Linked DNA regions of Homo sapiens: all the other regions are linked to region 2. Evidence: promoter capture Hi-C in human tissues and cell types (Jung and others, 2019). All regions are on one chromosome and are shown on one strand. Each heading gives the region's core, a stretch centred on a gene start or on the middle of the fragment in contact. The rest is flanking DNA. Distances are from core to core; before and after follow the strand shown. Region 1 overlaps RSPO2 (R-spondin 2). Region 2 holds the start of RSPO2 (R-spondin 2). Region 3 overlaps RSPO2 (R-spondin 2).

What was found. Contacts are between HindIII fragments. The study calls those that stand out against the background at their distance.
Region 1: a contact is called between a fragment that was not itself captured here and the fragment with the promoter of RSPO2 in region 2, in 2 of the 25 tissues and cell types used here (dorsolateral prefrontal cortex and neural progenitor cells).
Region 3: a contact is called between a fragment that was not itself captured here and the fragment with the promoter of RSPO2 in region 2, in 4 of the 25 tissues and cell types used here (IMR-90 fibroblasts, dorsolateral prefrontal cortex, mesenchymal stem cells and 1 more).

The regions. Positions count from the first base shown.
Region 1 is chr8:107,925,754-107,929,202 of GRCh38, reverse strand. The region is part of intron 5 of RSPO2 (R-spondin 2); the gene reads left to right. Among named protein-coding and RNA genes, the nearest start is that of RSPO2, 160 kb to the left of the region's middle. The HindIII fragment of the contact is 3,185 bases long and covers 1-2,866 here.
Region 2 is chr8:108,081,680-108,085,414 of GRCh38, reverse strand. RSPO2 (R-spondin 2) reads left to right here and starts at 1,795. Exons shown (of 6, transcript NM_178565.5): 1 at 1,795-2,218; 2 at 2,608-2,870. The coding sequence starts at 2,777. RefSeq lists silencers at 2,764-2,939, 3,480-3,735 and an enhancer at 2,656-3,602. The HindIII fragment of the contact is 6,606 bases long and covers 1-3,735 here.
Region 3 is chr8:107,946,626-107,949,934 of GRCh38, reverse strand. The region is part of intron 5 of RSPO2 (R-spondin 2); the gene reads left to right. Among named protein-coding and RNA genes, the nearest start is that of RSPO2, 140 kb to the left of the region's middle. The HindIII fragment of the contact is 5,256 bases long and covers 1-3,309 here.

The DNA.
Region 1 (3,449 bases), core at 25-2,524, 160 kb after region 2:
AAAGCTGTTTAAGTCAGAGGATGTAAAATGGATCCCATCCAAAGCAGCCATTACCATCCATCAGAGGTAGGAAGAGAGACGTCTACTACCAGTCAGACAACTCACAGTCCATGGTGTGACTGAGCTGTGGCAGCAGCCGTGGCATTGGCCTTGCAACAGTGTCAGGGCATGCGGTCCAGCCTTTCTTGTGATTTGGCTCTGAGTTAGATTGATTTATATGGTTGGTTTAAGGAAGGCTAAGAAAATCTATTCTTGATCTTCTGGTCTCATTGACATTCTCTGTCACTGTCATTGTTATTATCACCACCAACTACCATCACCACCACCACTAACATGTACTGATGCTCACAATACGCCATGAACCGGACTAAACTTTTACTTAATTTCCTTATTTAATCATAACGCCAACTTTATCTCATAGGAACTACTATTTCTCACACTTCACAGATGAGAAACTGAAGCCCTAGAGAAGATACCCGCTATGAAGCTTTGGATAAGTTACAGTGGCAGAGCTGAGGCTGAAACCAAGGCTCAGTCTCCAAAGAGCATGTTCTAAACTTGTCTGTTATATTGCTCTCCTGAATTAAGATGATTGTTGGAAAGCATCCACTTTAGGAACTCACCACTTTTAAACATTCCATACATCAAAATTTGGAATGGCATTTCTCCTAGTTCTGTTACTTTTATGTAATCTAAGTGCCTTTACTAAAGGGAATCAAAAGGTTAGGCTTAGAAGCACAGTGTTGGAGAAGTCTTTACAGTGTAATCTGGAATACTTTGGCAAGATTAAATTTTTAGTCTTTTGTTTAAAATAAAAATGACATTTCAAAAGAAGAATAGGCAGTATGTGTTTATATAAAAAGCTAATTATTCAAACTTTGTCAGCTAAGCAGTACATCTGTTAACTATGTATTTTTTAAAAGGGTAAAGGATGATCTAATAAGGTTTAAGGAATGTAGAGATTATATGGAACCTGGTGGCTATTTTTCTCTCTCAGAAACTACTGAAGTAACGACAGAAGGGGGTTCAGAGTTCAAATAATCAAGAGATCCTTAGCACTTAAGGTTATTAAGAATACTTAAGTATTCTCATGGGTCTCTAAAATACTTTTTCCAGGATAAATGCAGGTATACATATTTTAAGGCATATATATAGAGCAGATGAGCCCTCTAGGTCTTTACCTGCACAGTGATTTTTTTGGTCTATATTTAATATTTCTGATTAGTTAGGAATTTTAGAATTTGCTAGTTACCATTGGTGTAAACAAAACAGAATTGGACATGTGAGTTGCTCTCCATTATATAAACCTTAGTTGCACATCTGTAATACAGAGTATTTGAACATAGGATTAATGATCACTGGCCTCTGATGAACATCGATACAAAAATCCTCAATAAAATACTGGAAAACCGAATCCAGCAGTACATCAAAAAGCTTATCCACCATGATCAAGTGGGATTCATCCCTGGGATGCAAGGCTGGTTCAACATATGCAAACCAATAAATGTAATCCAGCATATAAACGGAACCAAAGACAAAAACCACATGATTATCTCAATAGATGCAGAAAAGGCCTTTGACAAAATTCAGTAGCCCTTCATGCTAAAAACTCTCAATAAATTAGGTATTGATGGGACGTATCTCAAAATAATAAGAGCTATTTATGACAAACCCACAGCCAATATCATACTGAATGGGCAAAAACTGGAAGCATTCCCTTTGAAAACTGGCACAAGACAGGGATGCCCTCTCTCACCACTCCTATCCAACATAGTGTTGGAAGTTCTGGCCAGGGCAATCAGGCAGGAGAAAGAAATAAAGGGTATTCAATTAGGAAAAGAGGAAGTCAAATTGTCCCTGTTTGCAGATGACATGATTGTATATCTAGAAAACCCCATCTTCTCAGCCCAAAATCTCCTGAAGCTGATAAGCAACTTCAGCAAAGTCTCAGGATACAAAATCAATGTACAAAAATCACAAGCATTCTTATACACCAATAACAGACAAACACAGAGCAAAATCATGAGTGAACTCCCATTCACAATTGCTTCAAAGAGAATAAAATACCTAGGAATCCAACTTACAAGGGATGTGAAGGACCTCTTCAAGGAGAACTATAAACCACTGCTCAATGAAATAAAAGAGGACACAAACAAATGGAAGAACATTCCATGCTCATGGATAGGAAGAATCAATATCGTGAAAATGGCCATACTGCCCAAGGTAATTTATAGATTCAATGCCATCCCCATCAAGCTACCAATGACTTTCTTCACAGAATTGGAAAAAACTACTTTAAAGTTCATATGGAACCAAAAAAGAGCTCGCATTGCTAAGTCAATCCTAAGCCAAAAGAACAAAGCTGGAGGCATCATGCTACCTGACTTCAAACTATACTACAAGGCTACAGTAACCAAAACAGCATGGTACTGGTACCAAAATAGAGATATTGACCAATGGAACAGAACAGAGCCCTCAGAACTAATACCACGTATCTACAACTAACTGATCTTTGACAAACCTGAGAAAAACAAGCAATGGGGAAAGGATTCCCTATTTAATAAATGGTGATGGGAAAACTGGCTAGCCATATATAGAAAGCTGAAACTGGATCCCTTCTTACACCTTATATAAAAGTTAAGATGGATTAAAGACTTAAACGTTAGACCTAAAACCATAAAAACCCTAGAAGAAAACCTAGGCAATACTATTCTGGACATAGGCATGGGCAAGGACTTCATGTCTAAAACACCGAAAGCAATGGCAACAAAAGCCAAAATTGACAAATGGGATCTAATTAAACTAAAGAGCTTCTGCACAGCAAAAGAAACTACCATCAGAGTGAACAGGCAACCTACAGAATAGGAGAAAATTTTTGCAATCTACTCATATGACAAAGGGCTAATATCCAGAATCTACAAAGAACTCAAACAAATTTACAAGAAAAAAACAACCCCATCAAGAAGTGGGTGAATGATATGAACAGACACTTCTCAAAAGAAGACATTTATGCAGCCAAAAAACACATGAAAAAATGCTCACCATCACTGGCCATCAGAGAAATGCAAATCAAAACCACAATGAGATACCATCTCACACCATTTAGAATGGCAGTCATTAAAAAGTCAGGAAACAACAGGTGCTGGAGAGGATGTGGAGAAATAGGAACACTTTTACATTGTTGGTGGGACTGTAAACTAGTTCAACCATTGTGGAAGACAGTGTGGTGATTCCTCAGGGATCTAGAACTAGAAATACTATTTGACCCAGCCATCTCATTACTAGGTATATACCCAAAGGAATATAAATCATGCTGCTATAAAGACACATGCACACATATGTTTATTGTGGCACTACTCACAATAGCAAGGACTTGGAACCAACCCAGATGTCCAACAATGATAGACTGGATTAAGAAAATGTGGCACATATGCACCATGGAATACTAT
Region 2 (3,735 bases), core at 546-3,045:
AAAGAACCCATCACTGATGAGTTTGCCCTTACACTGGTTAGATACCATAGCAAACTTCCTAGTACAAATAGAAAATTGATTGTAAACCAGAACATGTAGAAGTGAAAGAGACCTTGGACAGACTTCCTAAAAATACTGCCAAGGAAACTGAGACCAAGAAAATTGCCCAAAGTGACGCAGGTGATTAATGGTAGCGCTACCTCTGCTTGGTCTTGTGTTTACTTTTGCCTTTAAATATTTTAAAAGACACTGATGACCACTGATCTTGAATGGATCTCAAAGCTTTGCAAGGAGGCAGGGGGGCTTACTTAGGGAAGACTTCCTTTCTCCCATAGATTTAACTCCTTTATAAGTATAATTCATTTGTTGTGTGCATATATGACTATATTTGGAAAGAAGTAGTATTTATGGTGCTGAAGAGATATTCAGCATCATATCAAGATGATCAAGAAATATCAAGTTATGCCAAACACTGGGGCCACTCCCTACACTGAAATGTTTCCAAATTCTGTGATAAAAATCAAAGGCTCAAAAGTCAAGAAACAGATCCACTGTTTCTGCAATGTGTTTTGTGAACTCTATTTGTGCCCTGTGGGCCAGTCTCAGTGATGGATTTTCTTATCTATGAAATGGGACCAATGACCTCAACTCAGATTTACTTGGGTGTTCTCAGGCATGCATCAAAGGCATACTGCTGAAATTCTTAGCACATAAATACCACTATGTAATAGTGAGTCTGTAAAATAGTTATGAATAGGCAATAATGGAATAGTTAATAAATATGAGTATTGCAATATTCTTTTTATATGATTGTCTTTTAAGTCATCAAATTTCTGAACATCTTCTGAAACTGAAGGAATAGAAAAGGGAATTTAAATAGTATAAAATGCTATCATAATAATATGGTAACTGCGGGCATATCTATAGACATTCATACTGCCACGGTTAGTGGCATAAATTCTTATCTTTTGCTTAAGGAATAAATACATTTTTTCCTACAGTAGTGAATGCAGGACAGATTTCACCAGAATGAAATTGGATGGCATCAAGTCTATTTAATGTAACACTTTGTTAAACAGAATATTTTCCCCAAACCCAAAGCACCTAAAAGTTTAATTCAGGAGACTTTGGAAATGAGAGGAGGATTAAGAATGAAAAATACTTTAGTGGGAAGTGAACTTTTTAAAATTATTTTTAAAGAATCAAGGCCCCAACTTCTTCAGCACTTCAGGCAACGGATCACAGGTTTTTGTTTTATTGGAGAAGAAACAAAGTAAATAACAGTTCTGAGGATGAACAAAAGCTGTTGGGAATACCCATTTCACTCCTCAAAGTGGGGGCGCGTTTTATGAATAATTTCAGCCGGCTAACATACCTTCCTGCAAAACACAGACAAGATGTAAATTAAAAAGTGGCAGAGTTGTGGCATATTGCAAAAGTTTAAAGGGAGTCATCAGTCCTTCAGTCAGATCTCCCTGCAGAAAGGTTGGCGCTGAGGTTGGAACTGACCCTAGAGGGCTGGAGAGGACCCCTTGGGGGTGAGCAGCCGGGTTCTGGGACCCAGCAAGGTCAGGGGGCGTCTCCCCAGCTACTCTTTATCTATCCCCCGCACTCTGGAAAGCCCGAAGAGGATTCGCTCCAAGTTAGGCGCGCTGTTGGCTGTCAACGTTCTTTAGGACCTCAGGGAAACCGGGACGTTTCTGGCTTTAGGACCCAGGAACTCCGAGGCAGCCTAGACTTAGATGCCTTGGACCACAGCACCACCTACTTATAGAAGCATCCCAAGCCTCAGCCGGTCTGCATCTCCATCGGAAAGTGCGCTTGCCACATCCCTTCGGATCACTTCGTCCTCCCGAGAGCGTTCTGCCTTCTACAGCTCGGAAAGAAAGAAATCTTAGCTGTGAAGTGACCGTGGAGAAAGCGCAGGAAGCGACACAATTGGTTAGGGAGGCAGAGAGTGTGAGCGGGCGCACCCCTTGCCTGGGGACCGCGCTCGCGGGCGGGGACGGAGCATCCCAGTGGCTGCACCCGCCGCTCCGCGCTCCTGCCTGGCGTCGCCAACCCCGCGGCGGCCGCTGGAATTCCAGAGCTGCCAGGCGCTCCCAGCCGGTCTCGGCAAACTTTTCCCCAGCCCACGTGCTAACCAAGCGGCTCGCTTCCCGAGCCCGGGATGGAGCACCGCGCCTAGGGAGGCCGCGCCGCCCGAGACGTGCGCACGGTAGGCAACCCACACCAAGGCAGCCGCAGCTGCGGCGCTTGGGTACACCGCCGTGGACTCCAAATGGCCTAAGAGCGTTCTTTTAGCCCTGCGCTCTCAGTGCCTTTAGAGTTCTTTCCTTTCCCCGGAGCGCCGGCACAACGCATTATGCCGCTGGGTCGGAGCTTAGGGCTCGGCAGAGGTTGCTAATTCACTGATTATAATCACCTTCCTCTCCAACTCGTCCGCAGCTGCCCGCTCTGGATTAAGCCGCTCCGCGGCTCGTGCTAGGCAGTGGGTTCGCTTCCTCCTTCCCTCTCTTCTTTAAATTGGGACGTGCGAAGGCGCAGCTGCCTCCCCGGGGCTCTCTCCATCCCCCACACACCCTGTTTTCGCTTCTTGTCTCTCAGGTTCGTGGCGGAGAGATGCTGATCGCGCTGAACTGACCGGTGCGGCCCGGGGGTGAGTGGCGAGTCTCCCTCTGAGTCCTCCCCAGCAGCGCGGCCGGCGCCGGCTCTTTGGGCGAACCCTCCAGTTCCTAGACTTTGAGAGGCGTCTCTCCCCCGCCCGACCGCCCAGATGCAGTTTCGCCTTTTCTCCTTTGCCCTCATCATTCTGAACTGCATGGATTACAGCCACTGCCAAGGCAACCGATGGAGACGCAGTAAGCGAGGTGGGTCCCTCTCTGCCAAAGGTGCGTGGTGGGCTTCAGGGGTGGCGTGTGGAGGCGCTCACTCACGCCCTGGCTCCGGGGGCTCAGATGGTCAGGGCTGTGCTCTCCACCCCAGCTTTTGCGGGTCCCCAGTCCCCACCTTTAGGACCCTGGAGCTCTACAAAACACTCTGTTTTCTGTACCCTGGAGGCGCGGGGAGCCGGAGCGAGACGCGCTGGGAGCTCGGCGAGCCGGGCGCCAATCGGGCGCTCAGGGCTAAGTCGTGCGGTCCGCACTCATGTTCGCCGCCCCACCTCCTCATCTAAACTTGTCTCTTTAGGACGTATTTCTTATCTGACATGCATTTTTTTTTTGTCGTCGTTGTTCTTCTCTCTGTCCTCCTAACCATCTTCCCTGTAGCTCATTTGTTTTATCTTCCCCATCCACGTGCGCCCCAAACCCGGCCTCAGATCTCTTCGGACTTGACCTAGCATAGTGTGTGTGTGGTGTGTGGGTGTACCCAAGCGTGTGTCTGTATTCCGGAGCTTGGGAGGGGTACCAAGTCGAGGGGGAGGACCTCCCTTTCCAGAAAAAGGCCAACATAGATCTCTTTTTTCTGGAAACTGCGACGAGATGGGAACTTTCTGAATTAAGCAGCAATTCCCGCGCTGGTTTTCTGGGGAGTCCTCGCCTCCAGAGGTTTGTTTTTAAAACAGGCCCCACTTCGCTCTCTCCATTTGCTTTGCAAAAGCAGCCACACCGGTGGAGGCTTCTGTTCTCAATGAAATTCACTTGCGGCTTTTTAACTGCTCCCTCCCTCTCCATCACTTGTGCGTAGCGGAGAAGGCGGGTGGAAGCCTCCAGAAAGGTTTCGGGGAACTCGCTT
Region 3 (3,309 bases), core at 336-2,835, 140 kb after region 2:
GAAGGTGTGACTATGAACTTGACTCAATAGTGGCATGAGTAATACTGATTCAGGACTTTAAAAAAATCATATAAATTTAAAGGGTACAAGTGCAGGTTGGTTGGTGTATTGCATAATGGTGAAGGTTAGGCTTTTAGTGTAACCATCGCCCAAATAATGTACATTGTATTCATTAAGTAATTTCCTATTCCTTAGCCTCCTCTCAACTTCCCAAATTCTGAGTCTCCAGTTTCTATTATTCCATACTCTAAGTCCATGTCTACCTCTTATTTCTCTCCTACTTACAAGTGAGAACATAAGAGTTTTCTGTTTCTGAGATATTTCACTTAGGATAATGGCCTCCAGTTCCATGGAATCAAAATGTTTTGACTTATCAGTTGTTTTTTGCTGTAATCACCCAGTAGGCTATTTTGGTGAATATTGAATGCCTTTGGAACTTCATGGTATCTAGTGAATGCAGGAAATATGTAGATCTACGTTTATAGCAGTACAATTCGAAATTGTAAAAATATGGAACCAACCTAGATACCCATCAAAGAGTGGATAAAGAAAATGTGGATATACACCATGGAATACCACTCCGCCACAAAAAAGGAATGAAATAATGGCATTTGCAGCAACCTGGGTGGAGTTAGAGACCATTATTCCAAGTGAAGTAACTCAGAAACAAAAAACCAGATATTGTGTGTTCTCACTTATAAGTAGGAGCTAAGCTCTGGGGACACAAAGGCATACAAATGAAATAATGAACTTTGGGGACTTGGGGGGAAGGGGGTGAGGGATAAAAGACTACACATTGAGTACAGTGTACACTTCTTGGGTGACAGGTGCCCCAAAATCTCAGAAATCACCACTAAATAACTTATTTCATGTAACCAAAAACCACCTGTTCCCCAAAAACTATTAGGGGGAAAAACCTCCCCAGGTGTTTCTAATATGCAATAAAATTTGAACCAAAAAAAAAAAAAAAGGTGCAGACCTATTATATTGCAGGGGGCAGTTACTCTTCAAACTTGTCAATAAATATGTATTTTCTAAATAGATTTTTATTTATTTATTTATTTATTTTTTTTTTGAGATGGAGTCTTGCTCTGTTGCCCAGGCTAGAGCACAGTGGTGTGATATTGGCTCACTGCAAGCTCTGCCTCCCAGGTTCATGCCATTCTCCTGCCTCAGCCTCCTGAGTAGCTGGGACCACAGGCACCCGCCACCACGCCCAGCTAATTTTTTTGTATTTTCAGTAGAGATAGGGTTTCACCGTGTTAGCCAGGATGGTCTTGATCTCCTGACCTTGTGATCTGCCTGCCTCGGCCTTAAGATATTCTTAAATAAGGTCAGGAGTTGCATATTTAGGTGCAGAGTTATTTCTGGTGATTATCTCAAGGCCTGCACTCATATTTTTAGATAACCTTTTGCAATTTTTTGTTGTTTCCTCTCCAAGGCTGGCCTTTGATTATCTTAATCTGTGTCAAAGCTATTTGTTATGAGAGAACCAAGGAGATTTTGAGTAAATGTTTACCGAATTGCATTGACTTTTAAAAAATATGTTACAGGATGCCTTCCAATTTCTCTTTCAACCTACTTCCCCAAGATAATCCAGTGTTGGAGCTGGGATTTAAGCAATCTGTCATTTTTCTATTGCCGTGTCTTTAGGTCCATTGAATCAATTAAGCATCCATTACTTCCTATGTTCTAAAGAAATGGGAAGATTGGGAGGAGAGAGTGATACAAACAAGAGAGTTTATAGCCAGGTTACGGAATAAGAAAATGCACATTAAAGATAAAAGGCAAAGCTTAATTTTTAAATTATTGAGTGTCAGGTAAAGATGACATTGTTACAGGCTCTGATACTATAGAACAAAAGGTATTGTTTTTAGCTGCCATTGCCAGGGAATAGGAATAGTTCCTGAAGAGGATAACTTATATTAGGAGGAGTGGGTAGAAACCATGTTTAAAAAGGGAGATCATTTTAGACAGAACACTGTGAGGAAAGATACACCAGAATGTGCCTCATGCACCCAAGGGAGGTGAAGCAAATGAACCTGGCCGAAACGCAGAATTTGTGAATGGCAGTCACAGAAGCTCACAGAAAAAAATATAAGTTGCAGCCTGACTGAAGTGTGTCCATGGAGAAGACAAGGAGTTTGAATTTTACCTTGTGTACTGTGGAGAGCTATGAGACATTTGAGTGTGAAGGTGTTTCAGTAGAAAGCTGACTGAAGATGGAAGTGACTGAAATGGTGTTGCTAAAGTGTTAGGAAGAGGATCAACTGTACATCCCTGATTTAGGGCAGAGCATTAAACAGAGTCTGAGTCTGATGAGAGAATTAGCAGAGAATACTTACGGGTTCTGATGTTTACGTGTTTTCCTGTTGTTTGCTTTTCTAAAGAGTGGAGGATTTTGCCTTGGCTTGTGGTCCACTGTGGCCCCTGTATCTCTTTTTGCCAACTTTCTAAGCCAGGCCATTCTCTAGTTTGTATTTGTACAGTTTTTTCTTTTTCTTTTTTTGAAATCTAGGCACAATTTGCTTTCACCCTAAGTGAACTATATTTGTTTCTAACTACTACTTTCATCTGCCATTTACCAAGATCCTTGGATGTAGTATTTCCTATTTTCTAGCTTGCCATGTTAACCTTATAATGAGTTTCCTGTACTAGCCAGCTTGGAGTACTCTGAAAATTTAAAGTACACAAATCAAATATTCAGGTCAAGGATGAAAATGTTCCTACAAAGTTCAATTTCAATTGTATAATCTAACATGGTTTTATCTAACATGCCGCTGACTAGCAAAAGCAGTGTCCTGGAACATTGGGTTGAAAAGGATTCTGAGTTAAATGCTGTGTTCAGGAGAAAACCATGTAGCTAATCAGTTTGCAGTTTGTGGCATGAAGTGAGAAGCAATGTATTTTGTATTCATTCCTCTGAATTCTAATCCCTTGACCGGTTCTGCTTACAGCTCTTCCTGCTGCCTTCTCTCCAACCTTACCTACAGCACACACTTGGACATCTTTGACAAATAATCATCTAGCTTTTATTTTTTACCTTCAGTGATGGTGGATGTCTTTGTATGTTGGAAAAAACAGAATCGGGAAATTTAAATGGGGTTTTAAATTTGGTATATGGCCGGTCTTGACTACTTACGGGTTGAATGACAAGTTATTTTATTTCCCAAAGCTTAGTCATGTATGACATGTAATCTCAATAAGATTGTTGAGAGTAGTAAAGGGACATGCATACAAACAGGTGAGTTGTTACTATTCTGTTACATTTTGTTGTAATCCTGTTGTTAATTATACAATATTTTTCAC